2 separate regions of the Homo sapiens genome follow, and region 1 is linked to region 2. Evidence: promoter capture Hi-C in 16 types of primary human blood cells and fetal thymus (Javierre and others, 2016). All regions are on one chromosome and are shown on one strand. The core of a region is centred on a gene start or on the middle of the fragment in contact, and the rest is flanking DNA. Distances in the headings are between cores, read along the strand shown.

Evidence for each region. The method cuts DNA at HindIII sites, captures the fragments that hold promoters and counts their contacts. A CHiCAGO score of 5 or more calls a contact.
Region 1: a fragment that was not itself captured here is called in contact with the fragment with the promoter of ENOX1 in region 2 in 1 of 17 cell types (megakaryocytes); the score reaches 5.6 in megakaryocytes.

The regions. Positions count from the first base shown.
Region 1 is chr13:43,299,053-43,302,289 of GRCh38, forward strand. All of the region lies in intron 11 of ENOX1 (ecto-NOX disulfide-thiol exchanger 1), which reads right to left. Among named protein-coding and RNA genes, the nearest start is that of ENOX1-AS2, 150 kb to the right of the region's middle. The HindIII fragment of the contact is 1,731 bases long and covers 895-2,625 here.
Region 2 is chr13:43,785,523-43,788,432 of GRCh38, forward strand. ENOX1 (ecto-NOX disulfide-thiol exchanger 1) reads right to left here and starts at 1,450. Exons shown (of 17, transcript NM_001347969.2): 1 at 1,130-1,450. The HindIII fragment of the contact is 7,995 bases long and covers 1-2,910 here.

The DNA.
Region 1 (3,237 bases), core at 510-3,009, 490 kb before region 2:
GCACAGATTGTTTTCCTCCAACTCCTATCAGAATGGGAAGCTAGTTCCATCTGTTTCACCAACAGATTAAAACTCTTTTCCTCTACAAGGCTGAGTGGTTACTCTAATACCTCTCCCTGAAACCCCAAATTCTCCACATTTAGATTCAGACTTCATTCATATGTCTATCTTATTAAGAAACCAAGACAGTTAACTCAGGGTCTCACACATCTCAAGGCTTCAGAAATAGCCGAAACTGAAAAAGAAACAAATGGTACCAAACAAAGATTGAGGGTAGGGAAATCCCTTTCCCTAGTTTCTACCTTATTGCTTAGGGGTCTCTCCGAAAATCAACATAGCCTGCTGAGCACTCATAAAGCACTGGATCAAGAGCTTTGTATGAACTCACTCACTTCATACCCCCACCAAGCCTGTGATGCCGGTGCTGGTCTTATGCTCATCTTTACAGATGAGAAAAATGTGGCACAGAGAAGTTATGTAACTCATCCAATCCCACAAAGTAAGTAGCAGAAAGCCTTCACACCCAGGCTGCAGGCTCCAGAGTCTCTGCTCTCGATTACCATCGGTCCATGTGTTTAGTTCTTACCAGGCTGTTCAAAACCAGTCTCACATTCCCCCACCAACTCTCCCACCACTCTCCCTTTAATCTTCCCCCTCACAGAAAAGCCATTCCCCACTTGTGTAAGCAAGAGAAAAGTGAAAGAAAATTTGAAACGCTTGTTACCAGAAACTTCAAACATGTAACTTCCAGTAGATAAGGGCACGGTGTGGAGCCCACTGCACACCAGGTCGTCAGTGCATGCGCGTTTCCAGCCCCCGCTCCCCGTGTCAGAGGACCAAATCAAGGTCGCCTCCTGAGTGTTCTACCTGCACATTACAGTTCCATGGTGATAAAGCTTTACTGAGGTTCTCTGAGACCACAGTGAATTCTCTCCTCAAATATCAAATGTCAAATTATGTTAATAATAGTTTTATAGTTGAGTGTTTTACAGTACTCCATCTTGCAAAATGATAATCTCTGTGTAGTACACACTGAACTACTAATCAGACAGAACATGCAATTACCCAGAAATTTCCCTACCTCAAGCCAGTAGGGATCAATTACTTAACACGCATTTACTTCATATTTACTGTGCTCAGGTCCGTGAGGGCATCTCAGACCACAAAAAGAGGAGACAGAATACATCTCTTCTCTCAAAGAGCTTAATCTAGTAGAAACTGACACATTTAAAAAGAAACTATTGCTTTCAAAGGAAGAAAGGATAGTGTGATGTCTGGAATACAGCAGACACTCAATAAATGTTGGTTGAATGAATAAATGAATAAATAAATGAGTCGAGATGCATGACAAAAAAATGCATCCTATAGGAGTTCAGAGAAGAGAAATAAAAATTCAGACTGAAGGAATAAAAGAGGGCTTTGGAAGATGAAAACCCCAAGAACTTGGAAAGGATGTCTCTCAGTCAGAAGCCAGAGCATAAGCAAAAGCCCAGATATGAAAATCAAAGGTAGAACACTTGGGGCAAGAAGGAGAGAAACTCGACCAAAAGCCAAGTGTTTGCCTGGAAGCAGTGAGAGAAAGGGAATCCACGTCAGGTGATGGGAGAAGATGGGGAAGGTTAGGTTCAATGGAGTGGCCAATTGAGAACCACTGACAGCGCTTGGAGTAGTGGAAGGACATGATGAAATTGGGATTTAGGAACATTAGTTTGGCAATGGTGCATGGAATGAACTGGAGGCTGAAGAGAATGAATAAAGGAGATTTCATTTGGTGTATGTGTGTGCAAAACCAAGGAGCAGCCACTTTTACAGTTTTCAGAGACCTACTCATAAAATCAGAAATTATCCAGCACATAACCCGCAGCATGAGCCAGTGCTTTTTAACATTGTGCAGCCCAGCTTCAGATCTTGTCCACACCCTGAGATACCACCTCCTGACAGCTCCGTTTACCAAGCCATAAGGAAATGGTTATGAGGATTCATTTGTGAGAGGGATGTTGTAATAGGGCAAAATCACAGAAAATGCAAATGATGAAGAAAGTGTTGGCACTGCATAGGCACATTACTACATTTAGTAGCATTCAAAGACACTTAAGTCATTTCCTTAGGAAGCTCTATTTGGCCCTTTTTCAATTCAGAGTGGCATTTTTATTATCATAACTGATAGCAGGTGTTTGTGAAGAAATCGATTAGTACGCAGGGATGGAAATTACATTTTCCAAATGAATTGCATAGTCTGCAAGATATGCTGAAATCTGTATAGCAAAATGCAAGCAGCTATAAAGCATGTGCCAACAGCATTATTTAAATAAATTATCTGAACATAAATACATATAGGAAAGTGTACCATCCATTATTTTAGGGGATCTCTTACAAACCTATGGAATGGTACTGCTGAGAGTTCTTATTCTTGGCTAAGCCAAGTGACTACAGTGCCTGCCAAGCAGTATATAATATTGTTTGCATTCCCGGAATAGGAATGTGATATCATCATATTAAAAAAACCCACAACAGCTGTAATTCCCCCACCAAAAAAAAAAAAAAAATCAATACCATAGCAAATTCCATCAACATTTTTATAATTGGGGCACATAACTGATTTACATTCCTGATTAAATGATTTCAAGCTTGGTTTTTACAAAAAAATTTTCGTTACTCATGTGGCAGCAAGTAGTTATCTTCTAAAGGGTGAGAAATTGTATATTGACTCCACTTAGCTTCAGGCCACCTGTTTGTAAACACCACTCAGTGTCATACTGCAGCCCTGAATCTATTCCTCAGACAAGGCTGCCTGGAAGAGGCTATATTATGTTTCTTGGGCCAGAGCGCTAACAGAAAAAAAATCCTAATAATTTCTGACTTAATATAACTTCTCAGTATATTAAAAATTCAGAAATTGGAAAGGGAAACTTTTTATTTCTCTCTCTTCTCTTTCTTTCTTTCTGGAATACTGTACTAAATTAAAGAGTTTTGAAAAAATGTGTCATCAAGCTTCCATAATAAAATTTACCTTATGAGACTGCACAATGAATCCACTATCCAAATAAGTATAAGGATTAAAAAAAAAAAAAGTACAGTGTGCATCTTTCGGTAGGAATTCCTAAGGAGTGCACCGAGTGCCAATAAATGGAATATGTAAGAGACACCCCATGTGGATTACCAATTTCCGATAATAAAAAAAGAATAGAATTAGACACCTTAAATGTCAACCGGACTGAATGTGATTAAATATTTTGT
Region 2 (2,910 bases), core at 200-2,699:
ATGCAATCTTAACAAAATTGGGATTACAAAGCCAGTTTTTTTCATGTAATGTTACAGCAGTGAAAGATTGAGGGAGAGAAAAGGAGAGAAGCAGGAGTGTATCTGGGTGAAGAAGCGTGGCTCAGTGGCTATACAGTGAGACGCAGAGATTCCACAGAGCTGGGCTTGCCCACCTGTCGACCCCACTTTCCCCATGTGCTCGCCGCGGGATGACAACCACAACACTCCAGAACCACCCCCCTTCCGAAAGAGGGCGGGGTTACGCCTTCAGCCAATCAGGACCCGCGAGCCCCGGGTGTCCAACCTATGGGGTGGCTGTGGCCGTGCAGGGGGAGGACGTGGGGTGGTCTGGGAGGGGCCGCGTCCGTGGGAGGCTCGCACGTGTCGGGTCCGGAGAGGCGGGGAGGCGGCCGGCGTCCAGCGGCCGAGGCGCGGGCTCTGCACCCTGGCAGCGGCCGAGTCCGGCTGCCCCAGTGCCTCCTTTACCTCGCGTTGGGCCAGGCAGGGCGCGCTCCCGCCGACGAAGACCTGTCCAAGGTGTCCGAGCTCCCCGCGAGAGGGGACAGTCACGAATAACAACAGTACCCAGCGCAGACTAGGCGGGGAGGAAAGTTTCCGGCCCGCAGCAGAGCGGAGTCCGCCAAGGCTGGAGGAAAAGGGATGCAGAGCGGGAGGGTGAAAACCTGAAAGAAGAGGGCAGCGGGAACACTGTGTGGGCAGGAACGGGTCCCGGGGGCGACGCCCGCAGGGGGAGACGGGTGCGGGGTGCGCTGTCCAAGGTGCAGGGGAGGTGACTGGCGCGCGGCGGGCGCGGAGCCCGGAGCTGACACTGGCTGGCGGGCGGAGGGGAGAGCGGGGAACAGCTGTCTGGGGCGCTGGGCACCCCCGGGCGCGTAAAAGTGAGGGAGCTTGAGACGGGGCACGGCGGGGAAGGGCGTGGGGGCTGCACCGAAGCCCCCACGCGTCCACGCACCCCTCCTCACCAGCCTCACCTCTAGCTCCACTCCCCTCCCCCCTCGCCCACTCCCCTCTCAGTCTAGATCCAGGTGCCGTGGCGGGGGTGAGACCAGAGGACCCCGGCTCGGAGCCCGGACGCCCCAGGGAGGCTGCGGGCCCCGGAGCTGCTTACCTGGGGCCGCCGTATGGGGAGCGGAGGCAACCCGCTGCGCGGAGTGGGGCGCCGGGCGCGGCGCGGCTCCTCCTAGCCTCGGCGTCCTCCTCCTCCTTTGCTTCTCCCGGACTCTGTCCCGGGCACGGAGCTGGGAGACGCGGCCGGGCTGCAGTCGCCGTTCCCTCTGCTGCCGCCGCCGCTGCAGCAGACAGAGGACGCCCCGTGGCGGCTGGAAGCCTGTGTGAGTAGCGGCGCCCGGGAGAGCGGGGATCTGCTGAGGGGCGCTGGAGACTCCGCGGCTGGAGGCGCGCGGGCGTGCGCACGCGCGCCTGCGAGTGTGAGTGTATGGGTGCGCGCGCGCCCACGGGGTGGGGGAGTCGCGAGGGGAGGGGGAGAGAGGCCGAGAGATGCTCGTAGGGACCGAGGCAAAATTCTACGACCCCGGAAATCCGTAAACGCGGGGAAGGAGGATCGAACGCGTGTCTCGCTTGGAGAAGCTGCCCACGGGGCGGCAGCAGAGGAGGAGGGGAAGTCAGCGAGGCGCGCTAGGGCTCCGGATCCCAGCCCGGCAGAGCCGAGCGGAGCGCGCAGCCACCGATGCAGCAGAGGCGGCGCCCGCAGCCCACGGTCGCGCTGCCCCCTCTCGGGAGGGGCCGAGGCCGCTCGCTCCCGCCACCGCCGCCGCGGTCGGGACTGCTCTACTGGGAGCGGGGGAACCGAGAGAGGGACCGCACGGTTGCTACGGCGACCTTGGAGGGGCCGGGCCCGCTGAAGGGCCAAGAGAAGAACCCGGGCGCACGTGGCCGACTCCAGGCTGGAGCGGGCGTGTTACAGGATTGTGGGCTTGGGGTAGACGGTGGAATTGGGCCGCGTGGCCTGGGCAGATGATGCGGGGTGTGCGGCCCAGAGTGGCTCGGCCGGGGTGCGGTCAGCATTCAGGTTGGTAAGGGTGAGGGGATCCTAACCCCAGGTGACATGTTGCCTTTTTTTCCTCCTTGGAGGCTACTTTTTCTCAAAGTTACCCACTTCCCAGGTAAGAATGCCGGCCTCCTCTTTGTTAGGATTCAACTTAGCTGTGCAGGCATCTAAGCAGTGCCTCCTTAGAGTCAGGCTCGTCCAAGAACCGCTCCCACCACCTCCCCACACACACCCACATCCCCCGATCCTCCATCCCAACTACATTGTAATACTTCAGAAATAAATGTTTAAAGCACATTTACATTCTCTGCCTCTTAACAGATATATTGTCTTAGTAGTATACTTTTCCTTGCTTATTTTAAATTCTGAGTGGGATTTTATTCACACAAGCATTTCTTCAAGGGTCGTAAGGTCTGGGTAATACTTGAAATACCCTTTCTGGCAGGAATCCTCAATGCAGGGATTGTGTTTTGCACACTTTTGCATGCCTTCCAGTGCTTAGCATAGTACTCTGTACTTTGTGAGTTCCCTGTAAATGTTGAATGAATGACATTGTTTTCTAGCTTCACGTAACCTGAAGGCAAAGACTTGGATGCTGGGAAAGTCATTACCACCCCACTAGGCTTGCCTGATTTTAACTTATGCCATTTCCTTGTGTGTGGCTATTTTTCCCCCTGGCGGTCAGAACCCCAATGCAAAGAAAGAAAATAATACTTATCCATTGTGCACCCTTAACAAAGGATGCATGTAGAAGCACTCTGCAGGGACCCCAGTGGGATGCCCTGGGTGTGAGGGGGCCAAAGCTCAGAACCTAACCTCTCAAAATGTGAAAGTCAGTGTTCACCAGCAGTTTATACTGTCCCTTCTAGAGCAGAAGGATG